2 separate regions of the Homo sapiens genome follow, and region 2 is linked to region 1. The links are contacts of gene promoters, found by promoter capture Hi-C in human tissues and cell types (Jung and others, 2019). All regions are on one chromosome and are shown on one strand. The core of a region is centred on a gene start or on the middle of the fragment in contact, and the rest is flanking DNA. Distances in the headings are between cores, read along the strand shown. Region 1 holds the start of KCNIP2 (potassium voltage-gated channel interacting protein 2). Region 2 overlaps ARMH3 (armadillo like helical domain containing 3).

Evidence for each region. Contacts are between HindIII fragments. The study calls those that stand out against the background at their distance.
Region 2: a contact is called between a fragment that was not itself captured here and the fragment with the promoter of KCNIP2 in region 1, in 2 of the 25 tissues and cell types used here (spleen and thymus).

The regions. Positions count from the first base shown.
Region 1 is chr10:101,839,997-101,847,696 of GRCh38, reverse strand. It overlaps KCNIP2 (potassium voltage-gated channel interacting protein 2), which reads left to right and starts at 3,897. Exons shown (of 10, transcript NM_173191.3): 1 at 3,897-4,201. The coding sequence starts at 4,129. ARMH3 (armadillo like helical domain containing 3) reads left to right here. Exons shown (of 26, transcript NM_024541.3): 26 at 77-2,098. The coding sequence ends at 169. RefSeq lists silencers at 3,675-3,924, 7,671-7,700 and an enhancer at 3,880-4,385. The HindIII fragment of the contact is 20,872 bases long and covers 1-7,700 here.
Region 2 is chr10:101,912,591-101,920,290 of GRCh38, reverse strand. All of the region lies in intron 23 of ARMH3 (armadillo like helical domain containing 3), which reads left to right. Among named protein-coding and RNA genes, the nearest start is that of KCNIP2, 73 kb to the right of the region's middle. The HindIII fragment of the contact is 5,435 bases long and covers 428-5,862 here.

The DNA of each region.
Region 1 (7,700 bases), core at 2,648-5,147:
CTGCCGTTTAGAACTGACTCTCTCCTGTTTTCTCTCTGGCTGCGCCCTCCCACCTTCCCCAACTACCCTTTCCCAGGTTCGATCCATTAGCACCAACGTCCGGAGAAACCTGGCCTTCCACACACTCAGCCAAGAAGTCCTGCTCAAGGAGTTCTCCACTATCTCCTGAGGCCACGCCTACCTGAGCAGCCTCTGACTGCCCTTACCCATGAGGATCATGGGCTGGAGGGGGAGCGAGGGGAGAGGGGGCTGCCCCCGAGGTTGGAGAGAAACACAGATACCAAGTTCTCTTGGTGAAGACCGCACTTCAATGGAGCTTGGGCAGCAGGGGCAGGAGGGTCAAGCCAGGGATAATCTTATTTGGGGAGGAATGGGTGGGCACAGTGGGGAGAGGCCTCCAGGAATGTGGGGACTTCCAGAGTGGGCTCCCTAAACAGCCCCTCACATTTCCAATCTTGAGGTTACAAGCTGTAGCTACTGACTAATTTTCGGGAGCTGGTGAGGCAAGCCTCAGGGTAATGCCAGCACCCTGAAAGTCAGTGGCTCTGCTCGGCTTCTGAAAACAGATCAACTCTCAGATATAGCTGGAGCTACATCCTGCTTCCTTTGGGCCTGGGGCTGTGCTTGGCTTGAAATCTGTGTCCCCTGCCTGCACTGGCACTTTGTCCAGTCATCGGGACCTTTGGCTCAGATTTAGGGTAAGATAGGAATAGGGTACCTTTTTCCTTTTTTTTCTGAGACGGAGTCTCACTCTGTCGCCCAGGCTGGAATGCAGTGGCGTGATCTCGGCTTTACTGCAGCCTCCGCTTCCTGGGTTCAAGCGATTCTCCTGCCTCAGCCTCCCGAGTAGCTGGGACTACAGGAGCGTGTGCCACGCCCGGCTAATTTTTTGTATTTTTAGTAGAGATGGGGTTTCACCATGTTACCCAGGATGGTCTCAATATCCTGAGTTCATGATCCACCCACCTTGGCCTCCCAAAGTGCTGGGATTACAGGCGTGAGCCACCACACCCAGCCAGTTTTCCTATTTTCTGAATTCAGAATTGACTTCTCTGGGAAAACTGGAGATGAGAATCTGCCCAGTGCTCTGCTGTCCAGTCACCGCCTTTTGAATTTTAGTTTTGGCACCAGGAGTACCGTTAGCTTTCCCCTTCTTCTGGCCCATTTGACTCATCAGCACAATAGGGTCACCACCTTAACTTTTAATTTCTAATCTGCTTTACTGTCTTTAGGGTGTGTATGAAATAAACATTGACAGGCTTTCTGGAGCCCTCAAGGTGCCTACTTTGCTGGTTCCCTTTCCAGCAGCTCCCCCACCTCCCTTAGCCCCCCCTCCTCTGGCAGCCTCTCCTGCCTCTGCTGAGCTCCCCTCCACGTGTTCCACCCCCTTACCCTGCTGTTGTTTACATCCAACCTGCCTGAGAATTTCCTCTGGGGAGGAATCTATTCCTGTCATGGTCTAGTGCCTGGGAGGGAGAGAACTTTCTGGGGGTAGGGTGCCCTCCATCTGAAACAGGCCAGGTGAGCATCATGCATAAGGCCTCCATTCTGTCCGCTCAGATTCTGGGTGGGGCCACAGGCAAATCTCCTGACTTATGGGGAGTTGGCTTGTGGTTCCTCCCTTGGATAGCCTCCATGGAACCACTATAGGCTTTCCCAACAGCTGCCTCTGAAATAGCTGCTGCTTCGAGATCCTCCCTTTTTAAAGCACTTTCTAAAGCCCTCAGGATGGCGGGAGCAAACAGCACTGGTATATTCTAGGAGTAAGTGCAGGAATTCAGCAGTGAGAGCATGTCTGGGACCACCTGGACTGCCATCCATTTAACCTCAAATCTCTTTGGGATACTCGCCCTCCCTGGGAACCAGAGTTCTGGCTCTAACATTGAGCAGCTATGCACTAGTTCCAGAGAAGCCACTAACAGGCTGCCATGTGTAGATGTAGGTTCTTAAGAGATCACAGGCTGGGTCATCTGATCACTGGATGGATAGCTCAGCCTGGGGCATTTAGTGTTTTCCCTGGTGATAAATCCCCAAGGCAGCTGGATTTGGAGCTGGTGGCAAGTTGAAATTATTAAAAATTGATTTGTGTGGGACTGTCTTTAGTGTTGCTTTTTTTTTCCTTAATCTCTGTTGCCCAGACTCATTCCTCAAAGATAGAGGTAAGGTAATCTCCTAGGTGCTGCTGCCATCTGGCTAGGGGACCCCTACCTGCCCTTGTGAACTCTCCTCCTTCCTCTGAGTCTCCTGGCCCTAGTAGAGGTCAGTTGGGTTCGGAGAGCTGTAACCTCTCTTGTCCTCTGGGTAGAAGGAGGGAGAAGAGAGTTAGTTCCCTTATCTCCAAACTTAGTGGTATTGAGGAGGCAAGCCAACCCATTTGGCCACTTACGGATTCCTGCCAGCCTTTCCTCCAAGTGAATGAGGACAGGTCTAGGGCATGGGGCACTAAGCAGAGGGCTCCTTGCCCTCCATTGTAAAGGCCCTTCTCTTGACCAGTTTATTCACATATACCTATCCCAGAACTCCAAACGAGAGTGCCCATTCTCTCCTGGAAATCAACCTTAACAGGAGCTGCCCAAGCACTTTCTATGCCCAGCCTCTATACCAGGTCTGTGGAGCCTCCTCCAGAGCCAAGGGAGATCCAAGCGCAGGGCATTGCTCCTAAAGACAATCTTACCCTCAGCCACTTGTCCCCCTCTTAGGCCTGAACTCCCGCCACAATTCCTGCTGGGTTGATTAAATCAAGTGGTTGGAAATTAAAGCCAATTGAAGAGATTAAGTGTGCTTGAGTCACTTTAAAGTTTTTGGTCTTAACAGGTCACTCCTTTGGACCCACCAGACAAGGTCCCCTCATCCTCATAGCAACGGGTTGGGGGGCTTTTGGGTGTGGAGCCCAGGAAGCATCCTGAGGAAGGTCAGACCTGTGACGCTCAAAACACTCAGGATCCATTCCTGGGAGATGAGGCAGCCCAGCTTCCGTGCTAGCCCTGCCTTTGGAAAGGAGCTAATCTTAAGGAAGGGGTTTCATAACAAGGGCATTTCTTTCCTACTCTGTATCCTGACTTGGATCCCCAAACCTGTCAGTTGCTCCCCATATCTGCTGGAAAACAAGGAATCTAGGACAGGACAGGTGACAAAAGAGAAGGGCAGAAAAGTTGCTGCAGGGGAGGAACAAAAGAGCAAGGATGTCTTGAGAAACTGACCTGGTTCACTAGTTTTTTTATCTTCCTAGTCGGCCTATGGGGTTCATTAGATCAGTGAAGGAGGCACCCTGAGAGTGAATAGGTTCCAGAGACGGGGTCCTGGAGTGGGTGAGAGTTGGGGTCCTTCTGGAACTTGAGAGAAGATGAAACAGTAGTCCATTGGCCCACGATGAGCCTGCTAATATTAGAGGCTGGGTTGACTCTTCCTTTGCATCCCTAACCTGCTTTAAGCACGGTGGGGACTGTCTGGGACCACGAGAGACGCATACACGGGAGGAGGAACAACAGAGAAAATACAGGCTGACATGGAGACAAACGGAGCGGGGACTCAGATATGATACCCCAGGCTCTGCCTCAGCCAGAACTGTGTTGACGAAGGGGGACGGGGTGCCTGAGAATTGGGGGCGGGGTTTCCTCCTCTCAGTGGGGCTCTTCTGTCCCGCGCTCTCCTCCTCCCCCACCCCCCCCCCCCGCCAAGCCCCGTGACTTCTGCTTTAGGGGCAGATTGCTGGGGAGCTAGTCTCCTTCCCCGCACTTTGCAGTTCACCCTTTCACCGGGTGCCTCCCCCGGGCTGCAAAGGGTGGGGGGCGGGGGTAGGGGGAGCCAATCCCGGCAGCGCCAAAGAGGGGAGGAGGCGGTGACAGCCGCGGGGAGGGGGCGGGAGGAGAGAGGCAGCTCGGCTCGGCTCCGCGCTCAGCTCCGCTCTGCCTCCGGCTCTGCGCTCACCTGCTGCCTAGTGTTCCCTCTCCTGCTCCAGGACCTCCGGGTAGACCTCAGACCCCGGGCCCATTCCCAGACTCAGCCTCAGCCCGGACTTCCCCAGCCCCGACAGCACAGTAGGCCGCCAGGGGGCGCCGTGTGAGCGCCCTATCCCGGCCACCCGGCGCCCCCTCCCACGGCCCGGGCGGGAGCGGGGCGCCGGGGGCCATGCGGGGCCAGGGCCGCAAGGAGAGTTTGTCCGATTCCCGAGACCTGGACGGCTCCTACGACCAGCTCACGGGTGAGTCAGTGACGTGGGGGTCGCGGGAGGGAGGGTGGATTCCATTCCTCCAGACCCTTCCGCCTCTCCGACCCCGGCCTGGCCCGCACCCACACTCTGCCCCATTCCCAGGCACTCTTATGGCCGGTCTGGGCGGCAGGACACTGGGGGTTCAAAGCCTTGGGTCCCGCAGGGGTTGGGGAGGAACAGAAGAGGCAGGTGTGGAGAGGCAGCAGGTGTGGGCGTATGTGACACAGGGCTGAGAGGGTGTCTGGAGTGGGAGGTGTTACGTGCGTGAGCACCTGTCATTCTGTGTGTGTGTGTGTGTGTGCGCGCGCACCTCCCACAGCTGGTTGCCATGTGCCCTGGGCTTGGTGACAGCTAGGGTGAGTGTGATTGTATGTGGCAGTGCAATTGTATGGTCTCGTCAGATGTTTGAGTTTGCGTAGGACCCTGGTTGTACTGATGAAGTTGTTTTGACCATGTGTCTCTATGTGCAACGATGTGTTGTGAGTGTGTAATTCTGTATGAAGTGGTGTGTAACTACCAGAATGTGTCAGGGCTCTACTTTAGGGTGGCTTGTCTCTTTGTAAGCCTTCATGACCATAAGCCCTCTGGGCAAGAATTTGTTAAAGTAGGTTGTGTTGTGTTTTGTGGTTGTGAGATTAGTGTTCAGTGCTAGTTGTGTACTTTCATGTGGTGATGTCTGCAGCGGGGCTCTGTGAGTGTCTATGACGTGTCTCATCCCTGCTGCCTCTCTGGCTTCCTGGTACAGATAGGGGTCTTTAGTACACCCCACTCCTTCACCAATTTTTCCACAAATAGCCCAGGTGGACCCAAGGAGGGACTTTAGTGTTCAGCTGCCCAGTCTGGTTTCCAAGAGACCTTATGGCTCCAGCACCTGGCCCCTGTAGGGAGGCTTTAGTTAGTGCTGGGTCAGCCCTCTCTCCCCACACCAAATCATGTACTGAGATTATTCTTACAACTGAATCCTTCAACCCCCAACAAACCTTTCAGAACTTCACTCAAACCCCAGGAAAACACATCCTCTTCCTTCCCCTCCAGAGACAGAGCTAGAAGCTCTAGGCCTGGGAAGTGCCATGTGGTGTCCTGCATGTCCACCAAACCACTTGGCTGCCCGGGCATCCTCTCTTTCCCACATGGGGAGGTATGTGAGGCCAGTACATCTGTGCATGTGCATGTTCCTGGGTTTGGTAGGAAGAGCCATGTGTTTGTGTAGGTGACTGTGTCACCCTGGGTACATTTCCATGTATGTGTTTGTGTCTCTCATTGTGCAGCCTGCTCTAGAAAGCCAGCAGAGTGGGAGGAGGGAGGCTGTCTCCCTGAGGCCAAAACAAAGCTGGGGAGGTGGAGGGAGGCCATGATCCTTGTCCTTCCTGAGGGGAGTGAGATTGAGACCTGGGAAGGGGGAGGGGACTAGGATGAGGTGCCTTGAGCATGTGTCTTCCCCCATCCCCCATCACTGTCCCTAGGGAGGCCCTAGTCAGGATCAGGGGAGCCACTCAGGCTGGCCCCAGATGAGAGACCATGCCAGATGTGCCTCAGAGCTGGATGGAATCCAAAGGACCCACTGTCCAGCTCTTCCATGAATTCTGTTCCCATCACCAGCTTAGGATTCTTGAGAGTAGTAAGGGCCTAGGGGCCTTCAATAGTATCACATTAGTCAGTGTTTGCTTCCAGCTTTAATGGGTTCTCACCCTTAGTGAAACCATCCCTTCCCCACTTGGCTATTTGAATGAGATTGGGTGGGGGAAGCATTTGTATTTGGAGATGCCCTGCCCCAGTTCAGTCAGGAATGGAAGTGTACCAGCTATGTGACTTTTGTTCTCTTGGCCTCACCTTTCTCATCTGTAAAAGGGAATGTTACTTCCTGCCTGCCTGCCTACCTCCCAAGGAAAATGGAAAGGTCAAATGTTGACAAGTATCAAGAATTGTGGTCCGGGTCTACAGCAGCCTAGCTGTAGATAGCTCCACACACGACTTGGAAAGTAGAAATAGGACTACCAGGAGCTCTCCTCTCGAAGGGCGGCTTATTTTATAGCGGGAGACAAATCGGGTTGGGACGCCAGTGTCAACGAAGACTCCCGGGCGGGCGGGCGGCGCTGAGCTCTGAGCGCTGAGAGATGCCTAAGCTGAAGCATGAAGGGGAGTCGTTGTCCGCGGTGCTGAAGCGCGCGCCAGGCTTCGCCTCCCCTTCCCTGCAGTTGGGATTCCTGGGATCGGATTTAGGGTAGTCTGCAGCTCCCGTCTTCCCGGCCCATCAGGCTTGCAGGGAAGCAGCTGGAAAGTTACACCTCAGGGCATCCTGGGTACCTCCGAACATTTTACTTCCCCACTCCCACCCCAAGCTCAAAAGGGAGCTGGGAGAGACTCTTTAGGAAAACAAAACAAAACAAAAAACAGTCCGAGCCCCGCCCGGACCCCTGTCTAATCCCTCAGGTCTTCCCAGCCCGGCGGGGCCGCTGGGCAGTGCGGTTCCGAGGGGAAAGGCCGCGTTTAGCAGCGGCCCTGTCTGAGCGGAAGAGAGAAAGGCCAAGAGAAGATGCGGAGAGGGTTGGAGCCTGGCTGGCTAGCCCTGAGCTCGGTCCCCCGACTGGGATCTCAGTGGAGTCCCTCCGGCCCTGAGTATTGTTGCCGGGGCGGGGGCGCCCCCGTGTGGCTGCGAGGAGCCATGCGCACGGAGCTGCTTTGCGGTGGGGATAGTCGCCGTCAAGTGGACAAGATTTGCCCAGAGTTAGGAGGTCATTCTCACCACTTAAATGTAGGGTTTTCAACCAATCATGCGGGATCCCAGTCGAAAGAGCGGGACTATATCTCTCCCGTAGGCTTTCCCAGGAATTTTAAGGCGTTAGAGAGTCCTGGAAGTGTTTACTTGGGGTCTAACCTGATAGAGATGAGTCCGGAGTCCAGGAAAGGGGCGCAGCGGGACCGAAGTGGGGGGGGGGTGCGGGGGGGGCTCTTCTCGAAGCATTCGGCTGTAGCCAGCGTATGGTGGTAGTCTGTGAACCTGCCGCACCGAGACAAACACAAATAGAAACAGTTATGAGAGCAAGGAATTTGGAGCCAGGAGACAGAAGGCAGTGGGGCACAACTCTGCTGCCTCTTCTTTGCCACCCCAATACACTGGCCTCTTTCTCCTTCCTCCTGGCTTTCTTCCATTGGCCCAGGAAGTGTGGGGAGTTGCCATGACAACTCTGTCCTCTTACCCCTTCGGCTCTTTATGCCAAAATGGTGGGGGCGGGGTGCAGGGTGCGGGGAGGAGTGCGACAGGCGGAGAAAGGGGGGCTGAAAGGGGGCAATAAAAGATACGGTTCATTCCCCATCCAGCTCTTTTCTCAAAACCCACATGTGCCTGCCTGGCCTCCCCGCCAGAACCCAGAAAAATGCTCCCTGAGAAGGCTGAGTCCGCGCCGCCCCTCCCCGCCACCCCCCCCCCCCGTCCAGGAACTTTGGGGGCGGCTGCTTCACATGATGGGGCCAGGGTGAGCTCCTCTCGTGC
Region 2 (7,700 bases), core at 1,896-4,395, 73 kb before region 1:
CTAGAATGTCCTTTCCCAACTTGTCAACTCACCTCCTGAAATAGTGCATTTTGAGCATCACTTCATCCTTAGAGCCAGGCCTGGCCACACTACAGCAGCAACTGTCTACTTATCTGTTGTCCTCTTGACTAGGCTGTGAGCTCTTTGAAGGCAGGAAGCATCTATGTCTCACTCATCTTAGTGACACATTGACTCTTTCTCGAAAATAGATAAACAAACATAGAGTTCCTTTCTCTTAGAGAAGTGAGGATTTAGGATATTGGTTGGGCCTGATCTAGGATTAGCTGGGAGTAATGGTACTTCAGTTATTGGGCTGATGGAGGGAGCCAACAAGGGCAATTCAGAGACAGAAGCTCAGAGAAACACTGAACAAAAATGCCAGGCGGACTCTCCAGAAGAGAAATTGACTGAAGGGCCAGGCAGAGGATAAGAATCTACGTTAAGCCAGTGGTACAGCCCAGAAATACTAGAGTAAAAGGTTTGAAGGAAAAAGGTAAGGGTTAAAATCTAGAAGAAATGCTCTGGGATAAATAGGATATCTGCAACAGCATTTCTTAAATAGTGAGCAGAGACAAGGTGGAGTGTGAAAAGCACAACTCTCCCGGTACAGTTTAGTAAGTATTGAATGTTTCGTAGGATCCAGCATTGGAGATCAAGCAGGTCAGTAAAGAACAAACCACTGTGCCGCAGCCACCAGAAGCCTGGAACTTTGCCATGTGCTTCAGCCTACAGGGGTCTGCTAAGAAGAGAAGCAAAGCCCTCTAAGAACAGCACAGAGAGAAATAAAGTCAGCGAGAGATGGGACTATTAAGGGAAAGGCTTATAAAGTGCTGTGAGCTTCGTTGGCAAAGAAAGGGCTGTTCATCTAGTCTCGAATGTAGCCAAGCAGAGAGGGAGCTGGGAAGAAGGAGATATGAAGATAGCCTTAGCTAATGTGTGTCACTCTGCCTTTGAATGACCATTCAAAACATCAGCCTGTTGGTGTTCTTCAAACTGGTGAGGCTGTTGGGGGCTCAAGGAAAATGGGTCATTGTTTAAGACAAAAAGAAAGGAAGGGACGGAGAGAAGGAGAGAAGAAAGGGAGGGAAGGAGGGAACAAAGGAATTTCTTTGAGTTAAATCTCACTGCGTTGATATGCCCCCTCCCCCTTTTTGCTTGTTCTGAAGACCAAAAGCTCTGTTTTCTTCTGCTGAGGGTCCTCCCTTTGGGGTTTTGGTAATATCTGTGATCTATAATTGTTACTCTTAATACTAAATATTTTCACAAGTCATTTAATTATCTATAGATTTGACTAAACTGACCTAGATTTAGATTTAGGTTAAGCCTTCCATGCCTAATGCCACATACCTGTGCCCCACAAACCTGAGCTCTTTGAGTGCTGCAGGACTATAACTTGATTTGAAAAGCTGGATGTTCTTTTTCATCAGAAATCAGTGTTCTACTAAGCCTGTCAATTCATTGTCTCCTAGACAATTTTGAATTGGGATAACAAATTAGAGTTAGGGATACATTACAAATGATAAATGTGACTTCCTTAAAGGGAAATCCATTTGTTTTGCTTAGTGTTTCTGTGATTAATTACTTGCCAGATTAAATTGCTCCATAAAAATGCATAGTATTTTATTCGATTGCTCTTCATGGTGATTAATCAGGCCATACTGTTGCTTCGTATGTTAATTATGCTGACATTTTATTCTGTTCTCTAGTTTAATTAATACAGCATGTATTTGAAAGACTGTTTTTAGGATGGGATACTATCTGTTTTAGGGGTAAGAAAGTCCAAACTTGCTTACAGGCTGATGTTAGGGAATTAACACTTCCAGTTTTCTAAGTGGCCACATTTTTTGCCATGATAGGCAAAAAGTAGACTAACTATGAATGAGTTGGGGAAAGCTCTGTTTGGTTTTCCTATAGTTATTAAAGATAATATACTGGATGGCCAGGCGCAGTGGCTTACGCCTGTAATCCCAGCACTTTGGGAGGCCGAGGGCAGCGGATCACTTGAGGTCAGGAGTTCGAGACCAGCCTGGCCAACATGGTGAAACCCCGTCTCTACTAAAAATACAAAAATCAGCTGGGTGTGGTGGTGCACACCTGTAGTCCCAGCTACTTGGGAGACTGAAGCAGGAGAATCGCCTGAAGCCGGGAGGTGCAGGTTGCAGTCAGCCGAGCCAAGATTGCACCACTGCACTCCAGCCTGGGCCACAGAGCAAGACTCTGTCTAAAAAAACAAACAAACAAACAAACAAAAAACCCCATGATATACTGGAGATTCTTGGCTCAATTGAAAATTGATTATTAAGAACACAGAGAAGAAGCTGTTGATGCAAAATGAACTGCAAAACGACTGTAAACCTAAATGCCAGTGTGGGGGCTGGGGTGGTTGGGAAAGATTGTTATTTCCTGGGATGCTGCAGGGTGCTGATGAGGAACAGGCATATTTAGCATTTGTATTAATGAACTAGGGCTGAAAGTAAACAAAGTATTAATGAAGTTTGTAAGTCATACTGATTTGGAGGTGTTTCCTATACCCGGGAGGGCAGAGAAATGATATTGATGGACCAGAAAGAGAAGCATCACAGAAAATAACCCAGCTATTCCCTTGGGAAATTGCATATCTGCTAAATAGAAATAGCATAAATAGAGTCAGGCAGATATTTTCCAAAGTAGACCTTCCAGCAGTCCACTCCTAAATGTTTACCCAAGTGAAATAAAAACTTGGATTGGACAAATGTTTATAGTGGCTTTATTTATACACTGTCAAAACTGTGGACAACCCAAGTGTCTCTCAACGGCGGAACAGATAAACTATGGTACATCTATATAATGAAATACTATTCTACAGTAAAAAGGAATGAACTACTGATACATGCAACAACCTGGATTAATTCAGTTGCATTATGCAGTATGAAACTATCCAGATCCAAAAGGTTACATGCTGTATGATTCCATTTATATGACATTCTGGAAATGGCAAAACTATAGGGACAGGGTATAGGTCAGTTGTTTTCAGAGGCTGGGGTTGGAAGGAGAGGTTGATTACAAATGGGCACAGGGGAACTTTTGAGGTGATGAAACTGTTCTGTATCTTGACTGTGGTGGTGATTATCTGGATGTATGCATTTTTCAAAACTTGCAGAACTGTATACTTGTATCAGGGTTTTTCAGAAAACAGACCAATAAAATATACATAGTTATACAAGAGGAAATAGGCTATGGGAATTAGTTCACATGATTATGGAGGCCAAGTTGTTTCACAATATGCTGTCTGCAAGCTGTAGAATCAGGGAGCTGATGCTGTAGGCTTCCAATTAAAGGTTGAAGGACTGAGAACTTGGGTGGTACTAGTGTAAGTCCTAGAGTCCAAAAACTGGAGAACCAGGAGCTCCTGATGTCTGATGTCTAAGGGCAAGAGAAGATGGACGTCCCAGCTCAAGAAAAGAGAAACAGAGAATTTGCCCTTCCTCTGCCTTTTGTTCTATTCAGGTGGGCTTTCAACAGACTAGATGATGGCTGCTTATATTGGTGAGGGTGGATCTTCTTTACCCAGTGTATGGATTCAAATGCTAATCTGTCTCCTGGAAATACCCCTGTCAACACACTCAGAAATAATGATTTACCATTAAGGGATCCCTTAATCCAGTCAAGTTGATAATAAAATTAACCATTACAACACTAAAAAGGGTAAGTTTTGCTGTATGAAAGTTATTCCTTAATTTTAAAAATCAGAAAAAGAATAGTTCTTCACAGGGAAGGGTAAGAGATTCAACTTCTGACCATAGTTTCCATACTTTATGTGTGGCAACCTTTTGAAAATAATTTGAATGACAGGAGTTATAATTGGAGGATTTGTATTTTCTTCATATTTCTTACAAATTCCCAGGTTTGTTTTGTTTGTTTGTTTTTGAGTGGGAGCTGGGATGGGGGTGGGGGGTAGGTTGCTGATGGTTTTCCTTAGGTGTTTGCATTATATAAATCTATATACTGATGAGAGGGTTATTTTGAGAAGGAAAGCACAATTAAGATCTTGGACCTCATTGATAGCCATCAGACATAGATCATTTCCCCACTTTATGGATTGAATCTAATTATTTGAGTTCTCTGGATTGAGCTTTCATTTTAAAGCTTTGTTATTTCTTCTGTCTGGGCCCTACTACTGTTGAACTGTGTATTATAAGACTTGGAATAGGCCAGGCGTGCTGGCTCACACTGTAATCCCAGCACTTTGGGAGGCCGGGGCGGGCGGATCACGAGGTCAGGAGATCGAGACCATCCTCGCTAACACGGTGAAACCCCGTCTCTACTAAAAATACAAAAAAATTAGCCAGGCGCCGTGGTGGGCGCCTGTAGTTCCAGCTACTCCGGAGGCTGAGGCAGGAGAATGGCATGAACCCGGGAGGTGGAGCTTGCAGTGAGCCGAGGTAGTGCCACTGCAGTCCAACCTGGGTGAGAGAGCGAGACTCCGTCTCAAAAAAAAAAAAAAAAAAAAAGGACTTGCAATAGTGCCAAGGGATATTGCTGTCCCAGAACTAACTTCAGAGACAACTTCCACTCCCCTCTGTACTTAGACTGGGGCAGAAAGCTTCATCACACTGTGGGTTTGTAAGGCAGATTTGCACAATATCAGGGACCCAGGGATAGGTGAACCATGAATGCTAAACTATTGCAGACAGCTACTGTGCCTCCTTCCTCCCTTTCTGCCACGTCTCCAGTGATCTGAACTGTGTGTATACAGTGTTTGCTTCTCATGGTCAACTTGAAATGCCTTCCCAAATGCCAAACTATCTCTATTCAGTTGCTCAGGAAGGGGGCATACATGGTGATAGTAGTATTGCATTACTTGCAGCAATAATACTGAATATTGCTCTGTGGCTGCAACTTAGTGTGCTCACTGCTGACTACTCTGAGCAGATGTGTAGCCATCATTTTGTCTCAGACCAGGTAGGTTACATTTAGCAAGATGCTGATTCCCTAAGTGACTTGCTGAACAAATGTCCCTGGGTCTTTCAGCTGAATGATTTTCAGCACTGGACCTGAAGAGGCTGCTGGGGCCCTCAACCAAGACCCCATCTGTTAAAGCCTCTTATTGATTTGTATCCCTTTTTATAAAAATCTGTCCCTTCTCCTCCTCCTAGTGTGATAAATAATGCAGATATACTAGATGAAGTCTACTATTGGAGCAGGACTTGAATCATTTTGGTTAGAGTTGAACTAAACTAAACAGAAATGAGACTCTCAAATAGCCATCTATGTCAAATGGTTTCTTATTTTCTTATCCTTATTTATCATGGTTACGAATACTTGCAGAGTGTAGAAAGTAACAAAAAGCTGTAATTAACCTTGTAAAAATAAGTTTTAATAGGGAAATAAATTATAAGAATTATAAGATGGCATTATAAGTTTGCTTTTTTTTTTTTTTTTTTTTTGAGATGGATTTTCACTGTCACCTAGGCTGGAGTGTAATAGCTGTGATCTTGGCTCACTGCAACCTCCACCTCGCAGGTTCAAGCGATTCTCCTGCCTCAGCCTCCCAAGTAGCTGGGATTACAGGAGCCTGCCACCATGCCCAGCTCATTTTTGTATTTTTAGTAGAGACGGGGTTTCACCATGTTGGCCAGGCTGGTCTCGAACTCCTGATCTAAGGTGATCCACCTGCCTCGGCCTCCCAAAGTGCTGGGATTATAGGCATAAGCCACCGCACCCAGCCCATTTTAAGTTTTTGACTGAGTAAACAGGTGATAATAAAATGCTGTGAGATAACGGTTTATGTTAGCAGGGTATCGTATCTTTTTTTTTTTTTTTTGAGACAGAGTCTCGCTCTGTGGCCCAGGCTGGAGCACAGTGGTGTGATCTTGGCTCACTGCAACCTCTGCCTCCTGAGTTCAAACAATTCTCCTGCCTCAGCCTCCCGAGTAGCTGGGATTACAGGTACCCGCCACCATGCCCGGCTAACTTTTTGTATTTTTAGTAGAGACGGAGTTTCACTATGTTGGCCAGGCTGGTCTTGAACTCCTGACCTCATGATCCTCCTGCCTTGGCCTCCCAAAGTGCTGGGATTACAGGTGTGAGCCACCACGCCCAGCTCGGGTATCATATCTTAATCCTGTGTTTTTATGCCCCTTCAGCCCAATTTACTGACTATTCATAATAGATACACAGCACTTCATCCAGCCGGGAAATGAAGGTTCATCTTGGCCAACACTTAATTAGTCATTAATTATTTATTGTTCATTTCCTGTGTACCCAACCCTGTGTCCTTAGTTTCTGACCTACATTGGTAGTACTACCACATGGCAAGATTTCATAGGGTAGAATGCCATTGCAATTAAGACTTTGGAGGAACAGCTGAAGGCCAGGGTACAATCCTGCTGTACCCGAGTTAGAATGTGACCAGAATAGCTATACTTCCATTATAGCTCTTTTGAAAAGCTCCAGGAGATGACAGACCACTGCTTACCACCCATTATTTGCACCTGGGAAGTTTCTGAAGTGTTCCCTCCCTTTTGTGCAGTCATGGCAGCTCCGGGAAGGAGGGGACCACTTTACGCACCAAACCAAACAGGTCTGCTGAGGACATTTGCTCACTAAAGTCTGGGAGCCTTTGGCTCTGGTCAAGACTGATGTGGGCCTGGTGCAGTGGCTTACGCCTATAATCCCAGCACTTTGGGAGGCCGAGGCAGGAAGATCACTTGAGCCCAGGAGTTTGAGATCAGCCCTGGCAACATACAAGACCCCATCTCTACAAAAACATTTAAAAAAGTAGCTGGGTATGTGACGTGCACCTGTAGTCCCAGTTACTTGGGATGCTGAGATGGGAAGATCATTTGAGCCTGGGAGGTTGAGGCTGCAGCGAGCTGTGGTGGCACCACTGCATTCCAGCCTGGGCAATAGAGAGAGACCCTGTCTCAAAAAAAAAAAAAAAAAAAAAAGAGAGAGAGAGAGAGAGAGAGAATGTACTTCCTTCTGTCTGTCCTTTTAACCAAGAGCTTTCTCCTAGACCAAGAATTCCTGGCCAGGTGTGGTGGCTCACACCTGTAATCCCAGCAGCTTAGGAGGCTGAGGCATGAGGATCACTTGAGCCCAGGAGTTCAAGACCAGCCTGGGCCACATAGTGAGACCCCCATCTCTACTGAAAAGAAAAGCTTAGCTAGGAGTACTGGTGCATGCTTGTAATCCCAGCTACTCAGGAGGCTGAGGCAGGAAGATCCCTTGAGCCCAGGAGTTCAAGGCTGCAGTGAGCTATGATTGTGCCACTGCGCTCCTGCCTGAGTGACAGAGCTAGAACCTGCCTCTAAAAGAATTTAAATATTTCCTTTTTTTCCCTGTCTTTGGTATCCTTTTATAGATAATATGTACATATGGAAGTGTGTTTTGACTTCAGGGTTTTGTTTATCCATCATCTGAGAAATGCAAAATCCATTTCTGATAAAAATTCTCAGCATACTAGGAATAGAAGAGAGCTTCCTCTGTATGATAAAGGGCATCTGTGCAAAACCTACAAGCTGTCATATTTAATGCTGAAAGACTGCGTGCTTTTCCCTAAGATTAGGAACAAGATGGATGTCTGCTGTCACCACCTCTATTCAGCATTATGCTGGAGGTTCTAAACAGTGCAATCAGGCAAGAAAAAGAAATAAAAGCCATCTAAATTGTAAAGGAAGATGTAAACTGTCTTTACTTGCAGCAACATGATTGTCAAT